Linked DNA regions of Homo sapiens: all the other regions are linked to region 3. Evidence: promoter capture Hi-C in human tissues and cell types (Jung and others, 2019). All regions are on one chromosome and are shown on one strand. The core of a region is centred on a gene start or on the middle of the fragment in contact, and the rest is flanking DNA. Distances in the headings are between cores, read along the strand shown. Region 1 has its middle 8.9 kb from the start of ZNF566-AS1. Region 2 holds the start of ZFP82 (ZFP82 zinc finger protein). Region 3 holds the start of ZNF850 (zinc finger protein 850).

What was found. Contacts are between HindIII fragments. The study calls those that stand out against the background at their distance.
Region 1: a contact is called between a fragment that was not itself captured here and the fragment with the promoter of ZNF850 in region 3, in 2 of the 25 tissues and cell types used here (heart right ventricle and mesenchymal stem cells).
Region 2: the fragment with the promoter of ZFP82 here is called in contact with the fragment with the promoter of ZNF850 in region 3 in 1 of the 25 tissues and cell types used here (mesenchymal stem cells).

Annotation. Positions count from the first base shown.
Region 1 is chr19:36,496,640-36,500,402 of GRCh38, reverse strand. It overlaps the pseudogene CTBP2P7. Among named protein-coding and RNA genes, the nearest start is that of ZNF566-AS1, 8.9 kb to the right of the region's middle. The HindIII fragment of the contact is 8,707 bases long and covers 1-3,763 here.
Region 2 is chr19:36,416,450-36,420,186 of GRCh38, reverse strand. ZFP82 (ZFP82 zinc finger protein) reads left to right here and starts at 1,543. Exons shown (of 5, transcript NM_133466.4): 1 at 1,543-1,695. RefSeq lists an enhancer at 2,015-2,174. The HindIII fragment of the contact is 5,247 bases long and covers 566-3,737 here.
Region 3 is chr19:36,770,461-36,774,845 of GRCh38, reverse strand. It overlaps ZNF850 (zinc finger protein 850), which reads left to right and starts at 2,039. Exons shown (of 5, transcript NM_001193552.2): 1 at 2,039-2,121. LOC728485 (a long non-coding RNA gene) reads right to left here and starts at 1,693. Exons shown (of 2, transcript NR_164117.1): 1 at 1,337-1,693. RefSeq lists enhancers at 1,779-1,938, 2,079-2,218 and a silencer at 2,205-2,499. The HindIII fragment of the contact is 7,262 bases long and covers 1-3,845 here.

The sequences.
Region 1 (3,763 bases), core at 572-3,071, 270 kb after region 3:
AACTTTCCACTGAGAACCAAAGCGACCCAGTTTAAGGGAGAGCACTTTGTTTCTCTCAAGGCCTGGGGTTAACTTGAGGAGAGGTTTGGAGGTGCTGAGAAGGAAACACACTTGGAAAAGCTGATTCAATCATTCCACAATGTACACGTGTCATTGTGTACACATCACGATGTATACAATGTACACATCAAATTGTACCCCATAAATACATGCAATTATTACTTCTTAATTAAAAATAAAATGAAAATATAAAAAATATATAGTAGATCCTGGAAATGTAATATGAAGAATAATTAATAATAAATGTTTGGGGCCGGGCGCGGTGGCTCACGCCTGTAATCCCAGCACTTTGGGAAGCTGAGGCGGGCAGATAACCAGGTCAGGAGTTCGAGACTAGCGTGACCAACATGGTGAAACCCCGTCTCTACTAAAAATACAAAAATTAACCAGGCATGGTGGCACATGCCTGTAATCCAGTTAGTCAGGAGGCTGAGGCAGGAGAATCGCTTGAACCCAGGAGGCAGAGGTTTGCAGTGAGCCGAGAGTCCGTCTCAAAAAAATAAAAAATAGCCGGGCACAGTGGCTCACGCCTGTAATCCCAGCACTTTAGGAGGCCGAGGCAGGCAGATCACAAGGTCAGGAGTTCGAGATCAGCCTGGCCAATATGGTGAAAGCCTGTCTCTACTAAAAGTACAAAAATTAGCTGGGCATGGTGGCGGGCACCTGTAGTCCCAGCTACTCTGGAGGCTGAGGCAGGAGAATTACTGGAACCCGGGAGGCAGAGGATGCAGTAAGCTGAGATCGTGCCAGTGCACTCCAGCCTGGGCAACAGAGTGAGACTCTGTCTCAAAAAAGAAAAAAAAAAAGAAAAAAGAAATTAAAAAAATAAATGTTTAGACCAGGGTTGGTGGCTCATACCTGTAATCTTAGCACTTTGGGAGGCCAAGGAGGGTGGATCACCTGAGGTCAGGAGTTCAAGACCAGCCTGGCCAACATGGTGAAACCCCGTCTCTACCAAAAATACAAAAATTAGCTGGGCGTGGTGGCAGGTGCCTGTAATCCCAGCTACTTGGGAGGCTGAGGCAGGACAATTGCTTGAACCCAGGAGGCGGAGGTTGCAGTGAGCCGAAATTGCGCCACTGCACTCCAGCCTGGGCGACAACTGCAAGACTCTGTCTGAAAAAAAAAAAGATAATAATAATAATCCAAATTCAGTGTGTCATTTTAAGGTGGCTTGGGAGCGGCCCGAGGAGCGAAGGACTGAACCAGGAGCCATGCTGCACTGAACTGAGGCAGCACAGCCTCCAGGTGGGGTGGGAGGGGCGGGAGCCTTTCCGCTGTGGATGCTGACTGCCCAGGACGAGGGTTTCATCACCTTAAATGTTTTTGAACTGACGAAGCTGCATTCCCTTAAAAAGATGGACAGCTAGTGGCTCACACCTGTAATCCCAGCGCTTTGGGAGGCCAAGGCAGGTGGATCACGAGTTCAGAAGATCGAGACCATCCTGTCCAACATGGTGAAACCCCGTCTCTACTAAAATACAAAAAATAGCCAGGTGTGGTGGTGTGCACCTGTAATCCCAGCTACTCAGGAGGCTGAGGCAGGACAATCGTTTGAACCCGGGAGGTGGAGATTGCAGTGAGCTGAGATCGCGCCACTGCACTCCAGCCTGGCGACAAAAAGAAAGAAAGAAAGAAAGAAAAGATGGACAGCCCATCCTGTGAACTATAGAGTTTGTGGACAGATATGTATTGGGTTCATAGTGGCGTCATGCACACACACTCCTGCGAGTTTCCGTAAGTTTTTAGAGGACTGCTTTGCCTTTTGTTTTGTTGTTGTTGTTTGTTTTGGTTTGGTTTTTGGAGACAGAGTCTCACTCTGCCACTCAGGCTGGAGTGCAGTGGCATGATCTCAGCTCACAGCAACCTCTGACTCCCGGGTTCAAGTGATTCTCCTGCCTCAGCCTCCCGAGTAGCTGGGATTACAGGAGCGCGCCACCATGCCCAGCTAATTTTTATATTTTTAGTAAAGATGGTGTTTCCCCATGTTGGCCAGGCTGGTCTCAAACTCCTGACCTCAAGTGATCTGCCTGCCTCAGCCTCCCAAGTGCTGGGATTACAGGCATGAGGCACCATGCCAGGCCTGCTTTGCCTTTTGATCTGAGAGTTGCAAAGTTCCATAAAGAATGGCCCTGGTGGATAAGCACAAAATCACGAGACAGCGATTGGACAGAACTTGTGAAGCTATCCACCCTCAGATCACGAACAGCCCCCTGCACCCCCTCCCGCTGCTGGCGCCGCTGGATGGCTGTGACCTGCACCGTGGAGATGCCCATCCTGAAGGACCTGGCCACTGTGGCCTTCTGTGACGCACAGTCCACGCAGGAGATCCACGAGAAGATTCTAAACAAGGGAGGACCTGGAGAAGTTCAAGGCCCTGAGAGTGATCGTGTGGATAGGCAAGTGGCTACGACAACGTGGACATCAAGGCTGCCAGTGAGCTCCGGATTACTATGTGCAACATCCCCTCCACAGCCGTGGAAGAGGCAGCCAACTCCACTATCTGCCACATCCTCAATCTCTGCCGGAGGAATATGTGGCTGTACCAGACACTGTGGGAAGGCGCGCGGGTTCAGAGCGTGGAGCAGATTCTCGAGGTGGCCATGGGAGTGGCCCTCATTCGTGGAAGACGCTAGGCCTCATGGGCTTCGGTTGCATGAGGCAGGCGGTTGCAGTTTGAGCCAAGGCCTTTGGATTCAGCGTCGTATTTTATGACCCCTACTTGTAGGACAAGATAGAGAGGTCCCAGGGCATGCAGAGGGGACCCTGATACACCCTGCAGGGTTTGCTGTATCAGAGTGACTGTGTCTCGTTGCACTGCAATCTCAATGAACATAACCACCACCTCGTCAATGACTTTACTATAAAGCAGATGAGACAGGGAGCATTCCTTGTGAACGCAGCCCATGGTGGCCTGGTGGATGAGAAAGCCTTAGCACAGGTCCTCAAGGAGGACAGGATAGGAGGGGCAGCCCTTGGCTTGCACGAATCGGAGCCCTTTAGCTTTGCTCAGACTCCGTTGAAAGATGCGCCAAATCTCATCTTCACTCCTCACACTGCCTAGGACAGCATGCAGGCGTCACTGGAGATGAAGGAGGCAGCTGCCACCGAGATCCGCCGAGTCATCACAGGTCGCGTCCCAGAAAGCTTAAGAAACTGTGTGAACAAGGAGTTATTTGTCACATCAGCGCCTTGGTCAGCAATAGACCAGCAAGCAATTCATCCCGAGCTCAACGGTGCAACATACAGATATCCGCCAGGCATCGTGGGCGTGGCTCCAGGAGGACTTCCTGCAGCCATGGAAGGAATCATCCCTGGAGGCGTCCCAATGACTTACAACCTCCTGAGAGTGACACATCCTTCCCAAGCTCCCCTTCCCAACCAGCCCACAAAACATGGGGACAATCGACAGCACCCTAATAAGCAATAGCAGAGAATGCCCAAAGGTAATCATTCAGATACACTTGGGACCATGAGCCAGTGAAAAATAGATGAACTAAGAGAAACAAATTATGGTCTTTTTAACTGATTCTGGACATAGGCATCATTGATGTTGCCGTGCTAAAACTACAAGAACTAGACAACTGAAGATGTCGTCTCTTATGGAAGTGCTGAAAGACTAGGATGTGATTTACTAACAACCGACTTCCGTTATTGTGTGTTAAGTTTTTCATCTGTGCATCAAATCCCAAATAATAAATGG
Region 2 (3,737 bases), core at 294-2,793, 350 kb after region 3:
ATCTACTTGCTAAAACTTTTTTATAAACCCAGAGTCAATATTTGCAGCACCTTTGTGGTCATTTGTGGACATCCGAAGAGCGGTGAACCTTTTTGAGTCCCTTAACAGGCATGTTCTCAGCCAAAGTCAAACAAAGTGACCCTCTATCTTCTTATTTCAGCTCTCATACTGTAAACAGGTACCCTTTTTGCAGTCCATTTAGTACCTTGGCTTCTCATATTTTTGTTTTTTGCTGGTGATTTTGCTGTTTCAAAGGGACCCCAAATGTAGTAGTACTAAAGTGCTGTTGATGTTCCTATGAATGAGAAAGCGGTCATGTGTCTTACAGAAAAAATACATGTGTTAGATAAGCTTCATTCAGGCATGAGTTATGGAGCTGTTGGCCATGAGTTCAATGTTAATGAATCAATAATATATATTAAAGTGTTTAAATAGAAACACAATAAGGCCAGGCGCGGTGGCTCATGCCTATAATCCCAGCACTTTTGGGAGGCCAAGGCGGGTGGATCACCTGAGGTCAGGAGTTTGAGACCAGCCTGGTCAACATGGTGAAACTCCGTTTCTACAAAATACAAAAATCAGCTGGGCATGGTGACATGCATCTGTATTCCCAGCTACTCTGGGGGCTGAGGCAGGAGAATTGCTGGAACCCGGGAGGCGGAGGAGGTTGCAGTGAGCCAAGATCCCACCACTGCACTCCAGCCTGGGTGACAGAGCAAGACCCTATCTCAAAAAAAAAAAAAAAAAAGAAAAAAAGAAAATAAACACAATAAAATAAGCTTATGCATTCATCGGTTGACTAAAATGTGACCAGATGCTTACAGGAAACTAACCCTGTATTTCCCCTAGAAGCAGTGGAATGGTATTCACTAATTCCGTGTTTGTAGCAAGTTTATAGACCATAACTACTGTGAATAGTGAGAACTGACTGTATTTTAGGCTGCGTGGGCCATCTGGTCTGTGTAACTACTCGAGTCTGTCCTTGTAGCTCAAATATAGCAATAGACAGTACACAATCAAACACGGCTATGTTCCAATAAAACTTTTATTTATGGACACTGAAATTTGACATGTATGATTTTCATATTTCACAAAATATTGTTCTCCTTTTCATTGTTTTTACCATTTAAAAATACAGAAATGGAAAATATAGGAACTGGCTTCCCCGAATCTCCGGAGTCACACGGTCTCAAATCCCAACAGCCACACCCAGTGAAAGAATCCCACCCAGGAGCGCGCCAGGGACAGACTCGCAGCGCCGTCCTCGCTCACAGGGCTCCCTAGTTGGCACTATAGAGAGGCGGTCGCGGGCGCCCCTCTTTAACGCGCCAGCCATCTGTCCCCGCTCCCCTCCAGGCCCTGCCGCGCCGTCCCCAGGCGCTAAGGGACTCGAAGCGCAGCCTCGCTGGGACGGACCTAGCTCCGGCTCCGGGTTCACGCAGAGCAGGGGCTGCACCAGCGAGCGGACCCTTGAGACTGGCCGCGCCTGCGCACTCCGTGAGCGCGCCCGGCCCTCCCAGCAGCCTCCGCGCGCAGCCCGTTAGGCCCCGGGGATTGTGGCGTGACCCGGCAGCGGCTTCCTCCGTTCGGGCATCGCTGTGCCTCGGGTTCGCGCCCCGAGTGAGCAGTCCTGGCCCGGAGCGTCGGTCCTGGTAATCTGTAGGAAAAGCGCTGCGGCCCAGGGGGTAAAGAGAGGTAAGCGGGGCCACTGCAGTATCGCAGAGGGGCGGGAGCCCGCGCCTCAGGCCCGGGTGTGTGTGTCGTGGGCGTGACGGGGCCGGGGCTGGGACGTGACGGAGTCTGTGCGGCTGACTTGGGTGCAGAGACTATTGTATGAGCGAAGGTTGTTGTGGCCGTGGAGTGCGTGACTGACCCCAGCATCCTCTGCCCACACCGGGCCCAGCTGCAGAGAAATGGCCCTCGGTCAGTTTCTGCACGCCAAAGACTCCCAGCAGAAACGCGCAGACTAGGCCGGACCAGGTGGCTCACATCTGTAATCCCAGAGCTCTGGGAGAGCGAGGCGGGAGGATCGCTGGAAGCCAGGAGTTCGAGACCAGCCTGGGCAGCAAAGCGAAACTCCCATCTGTACCAGAAATTTAAAAAATGAGCCGGGTGTGATGGCGTGCTCCTGTGGTCCCAGCCACTCGAGAGGCTGAGGCGGGAGGATGGCTTGAGCCTAGGAGGAGATTGAGGCTGCAGCGAGCTATGATAGCACCACTACTCTCCAGCCTGGGCAACAGCGAAACAAGGCTCAGACCCGACCTTGGGATAGGAATATTAGAACTGAACGAGCCCCCGCTCCCGCCCAGGCTTGCTCCTGGAAGGGACTCCCACACCACCTCCTCGCGGACCCGGACCCACGCACGTGCACTCACAACTCTGAAGAGTCCAGCTGCAGGTTTCAGAACCACAGCATTGCTTCCAGGAAGCTATTGTGAACTCCAGTTCTAGCCCCGGGCATCCATGACCCTGGCCTTTCTTTGATACTGGGAAGAGTTAACAACACCATCTCTCTTATGTTACTCTGGTTATGTGTGGGTGGGCGGTGGGGGCATTGTGCCCTATGCGAGGCTGGGCTGCAAGAAAAGCCTGGTTCCCTTATTAGCCAGTCCTGCCCAATTCTTTAAGAAAAGGGGTCCGAGCGGGAGGAGGAATGAATTGCTGTTGCCTGTTTAAGTCAAGGTCGAGGCGAGTGGGTGTTTCTGCTTTCTTCTGTGAAATGCATTCTTATTTCTTAGGACATGAGAATATTTGTTTCATTCTCCATAAATGTCCTGTCCATTGAGCTGATACCTAGGTCCCCTCCCGAGAGCCTGTATGCACATACCCATTTGGTAGATGTTTTTCATTACTTCTGTGGGCCTTCTTTTAATTACTATGTGTAAAGTTCTTAGAACAGTTCCTGAGACCTCGTTAGTACTTAATAAACCTTAGTTATGTATTCTTAAGTAGTGATTTGGAGCAATTCTACATCAGCCTTCTATAGATGGGGGGAAAATGAAAATACTAAGCCAATTGTGGTGAGTATTTCCTAGTAAAAAATAAATGAGCCAGATCAGATGCTTAAATAGTCTAAAACAGGAATTCTTTTTTTTTTTTTTTTTTTTTTTTTTTGAGACAGGGTCTTGCTCTGTCACCCAGGTTGGAGTGCAGTGGCACAATCTCAGCTCACTGCAACCTCCCTTTCCGTGGTTCAAGCGATTCTTATACCTCAGCCTCCCAAGTAGCTGGGATTACAGGCCTGCACCACCACACCCAGCTAATTTTTGTATTTTTAGTACAGACCGGGTTTTACCATGTTGGCCAGGCTGGTCTCAAACTCCTGGCCTCAAGTGATCTGCCTGCCTCGGCCTCCCAAAGTGCTGGAATGACAGGCATGAGCCACCGCCCCCAGCCTAGAACAGGAATTCTTTTTTTTTTTTTTTTTTTTGAGACGGAGTTTCGCTCTTATTTCCCAGGCTGGAGTGCAATGGTGTGATCCCAGCTCACCGCAACCTCCGCCTCCCAGGTTCAAGCGATTCTCCTGCCTCAGCCACCCTAGTAGCTGGGATTACAGGCATATACCACCACGCCTGCCTAATCTTGTATTTTTAGTAGAGACGGGGTTTCTCCATGTTGGTCAGGCTGGTCTTGAACTCCCGACCTCAGGTGATCTGCCCGCCTTGGCCTCCCAAAGTGCTGGGATTACAGGCATGAGCCACCGTGCCCGGCCATAGAACAGGAATTCTTAACCAGAA
Region 3 (4,385 bases), core at 790-3,289:
CCTTGCTTTAGCAGACCTAGCTGATCACACAAGGTCCTGTATTGTTAGGCTGCATCACAGGCCGCAAAGACCCAGGTATCTATCCAGTTGTTAGAAACCATCCTGAGAGTTAGATACCACTTTTCTGTTGGAAATACAGACCATTTCCTGAAGCCGTATGGTTGAGGTAAAACAGGCCTTTTGCAGTCTTATATTTTGAGTAAGGCCAAAACTGCCTAGTGTTACAAAACCAGACAAAAAGCCCAGGTACCCAGTCTTGCAGGATAGAAATGTGTGACTAAAATGAAGCATCGATCTGAGAAGACTACAAATGAGCGGGAAAGATTGGACAGGAGCATGCTATACATTATTTAGATTAATGTTGATATTTAAGGAGCCAGGATATTGGTTTGTTTTTGAGGGGTGCCCATCTACTTTATGTAAGAAGCTATAAACTACACTTCTTTCAGTTTCTGCTTAATCCTTGCTCAAACAAGGAATAATTTCTTATTCCAAAGTAGACATTGGTACATCTTTTACTAGGTACATAATTTGGGATGAAGTCTGATAAAGCTCCTTAGAAGTACTTACAGTACACCCTCACAAGGGTGTACCATCTACCCATGGTTTAAACAGAAATTAAAATTCTACCTTCGTGGAAAAATTTGCCAAGTTTTAATGGATTCAGTGCTCATTAAAAACTTTTAGCCTGTCTTGATCTTTAACATAATTATTGGTGTGAAACAATGGCTTCTGTGGAAAATTAAAGTTTTAGTGGTTTGCTATTTGTGAAATACAGGCTTTTTCATGTATCATATTAGCATATAAGCTGGCTTAATCATTAGTACTGATCTTCAAGTTACTAAGACACCAGATATTTGTTACTTTGTAATTTGAGTTTTTAAAAAAATTCCGAAATTGGCTTTTCGATGTGTGAAAAGGACTACTTATTAGATGCTTGTTTTTAAATTTACATTCAATTAATTAAAGCTAGACTCTTTATATTCTTAGGCTTGGTATACTATTTGTATGTTTTGTAGTAAGTGTATAAAAATAATACCTTTGACTTTGTATAAAAAAAATCTTTCTTGCTTTAAAAGCCATGTTGGATTTGCATTCTAGACCGTAATAAATATAACTACTTTAACATAAAAATCTATTTATGTTGTTTATCAGATATTAGGGGTTTTTTTCCCTCTCCTGTCAACCTCCAAATAAAATCGATGCTCCAGAATGATGCCCTCTTATCATAATTTTACAAATACCTGGCTCCAAGGTTACTACCTGATACAAAAATACAATGCTGGTCTCCCAAACAGGCAACTCACATTGACACTCACACAGCTTCCACTCACACCTGCGATCACAAGGCAGCATCTTCGGGCCCTCGTCGGCCACGATCCGCTCCCAGAGAGCATTCGCGCACAATCTTATCCCATCCACGATTTTGATTCCTTTTCTCCCACTTCTTCAACCCTATCCGGGACGAGACCATCAGGTCCCACCTCCACCTTCACCTTCATTTTCCGCGCAATGCAGACTGAGCCCTGGACTCACCCATATACAGATTGAATTGTCCGGTCAGTGTTTCATCCCCTCTGCATTCTGAGGGCGAGTTAGCATCTGGGTGCATGAGTTCCAAACTAACAGCCAGGACCAGGCTTGGAGCCAAGAATCCTTTGGCTCGCATCGTGGCTGGGTTGACCGCTTTTCTGCCCTGGACTACATTTCCCATCGGTTCTACCGTTCGGGGCTACTTCCGCCGAGAACCGGAAGCACGTTTTCCTGTGTCTTACCCCAGATAACAGAGCTGCCAGGGATAATCAGGCCTGACCACTCTAGCGGGCGAGCCGGCCCCATAGCGAGCCGCTCGGCATGAGGGCTCTGCGATCCTCGTTGGAGAGGAGCGGTAAAAGGAAACAAGCCAGGCTTGGAAATGAGAGGCATAGGGAAGCCCGCAGTCGGGCTCTGGACTACATTTCCCAGAGGATCCCGCAGGCCGACGCCACGTCTCGCGAGATTTTGGCTTCCTCTTAGCCAGGTGGCGGGACCGTTTGCTGTGCCGATTTAGCTGCCGCCGCGCCTTGGAGTCCTGAGGAACTTGGCTAGGCTGGCCCCGAGCGGAACCAGAGAATGCTGAGGGTGAGGAATCCGGCTCCGGTCCTTTTGTGTGTGGAGGGCTGAGGAGAGGAGTTTGCGTGTGTGATCGCGATGGCTGCCGTGGGTCTCCGTGGTCTGTGACTGTGGCTGTGTGGTGCTGACTCTGGGTGATCAGGTGGGCGCTTGTGACTGTGCGCGCCCGGAGTGGGTGTGTGTGTCCTGGACGACCCTCGTTGTGCGTGCGGATGTGAAGAACCGGTGACTGTGTGGTTGGACTGCGTGTCCCGGGGTGGGTGTGTGACTTTGCGTGTCTGTGCAGTACCTTGTGTGCGTGAGTTGCAGGTCTGTGGCTGTGCAAGTGCAACTTGTGTGGCCCCTTGGTGTATGTGAGAGAGGAGAGTGTGATTGGCTGTGAGGCAGTGGGTAAGTGGATATGCGGAGGCATGTGTGCGATTGGGACTTTGTGTGTCCCCTTGAGAGAAAAAACTCTTTAGGCAGTTAGGGTGGGACCTTGGTAAAAGTCCTTTAAACAGAGAAACAGCCTGAAAAATCAGGCTGCAGGCATACATAAGGAAAACTCCACAGGGGGGTTGTCCTGAAGACATTCCTCAGCTGCACTGATAAGGGACCGAGGCCCAACATAGAAACGCCTTTGTCCTTTGTGTGACCAGCGGGCTTCCACGAAATAGTCGCTTCTTTTGTGGGCATGTACACGGTGGGCTCTGTTAGATTTTGAAGGGAAGGCGAGGGTTAAAGAAAGAGAGAGAGTTGGCGGCTCTATGGCGGGGACCAACTAAATGCCAGAGCCCACTGCCGCTTCCAGGCTGGGGTAATTACAGGCCTGGGCAGGAGGGGTCTGGGCGGTATGGCTTGTTGCCTGGGAGAAAGTTGATAAGGATGTTTCTTGGGCTTTTGCCCAGCAGGATGTGATAAGGAAGTCAGGCGGTTGGGAAGGATGTTTCGCACAGCCCAAACCCGGGTGGAATGTTTCCCTCTGACCAGGGTCTGTGAAATGGTGGGGGCTTACGAAACGGTGCAGCTTGGACTAACAGGTTCCGGCGGCCACTTTCCTTTTTTGGACATGCTTTAGACTGTGAGCGCGGCCTCTTTGAATCATAACTTCACCCCCTCATTGGTCCCGGGCCAAGCTTTCACTTCAGCCCCTGATTGGTCCCGGGCCAAACTTTCACTTCAGCTCCTGATTGGTCCCGGCCCAAACTTTCACTTCAGCTCCTGATTGGTCCCGGGCCAAACTTTCACTTCAGCCCCTAATTGGTCCCGGGCCAAACTTTCACTTCAGCTCCTGATTGGTCCCGGGCCAAACTTTCACTTCAGCCCCTGATTGGTCCCGGGCCAAACTTTCACTTCAGCCCCTGATTGGTCCTGGGCCAAACTTTCACTTCAGCCTGGGATTGGTCCCGGGCTAAGGTCCCAGGGCCAAGCTGGGTAGTGCTTTCTTCAAGACAGCCCACGTTCCTCCCCTTCCCAGTTAATAAACCCCCCCAGATTCAGCCTCCTAGTTGGCAACCCTCTTTTGGGTCCCTCCGCTGGGGAGAGCTTTCTTCTTTTGCTTATTAAACTTCCGCTCCGACCTCATCCTTTGTGTCCCTGTTCCTTAATTTTCTTGGCCGTGAGAGAAAGAAGGCAAAAACAAGAGCCTTTACCCTAACAACTCAATTGCTGCAGAGATTAGTGCATATTCTATGTGGCATCACACGCCATAGCCCTGGGATTGAAAGCCATGCAGTTTATGGGATGGTGTTAATCTCAGTCCAAATAAGTGATAAGATCTTTCACTTTGCTATATTTTAGGGGTAGGAATGAGATTGGGGGCTCGATCAATAGTTTGTACCAATAACACCAGGGATTTGCCCAGTCATCTGTGAGTAAATGCTTGGGCCAGTTTCCATGTCTGTATTGAATTAAATACTCATACGGTTCTGTGATTTTCTCAAATACAGATTTGGTCTTTGTCCCTATTTCCTCGCATACAACTCCTAAAGTCCTTGGAATCTCTTAAGTGCTGGCTTTTTTTTTTTTTTTTTTTTTTTTTTTTTTTTTTTGATGGAGTCTCTCTCTGTCGCCCAGACTGAAGTGCAGTGGCGCAATCTCCAGTCACTGCAACCTCTGCCTCCCGGGTTCAAGCAGTTCTTCTGCCGCAGCCTCCCGAGTAGCTGGAACTACAGGCACGCGCCACCACGCCCGGCTAATTTTTGTATTTGTTTTTTTTAGTAGAGACGGGGTTTCACCATACTGGCCAGTCTGGTCGCGAACTCCTGACCTCAGGTGATCTGCCTGCCTCGGCC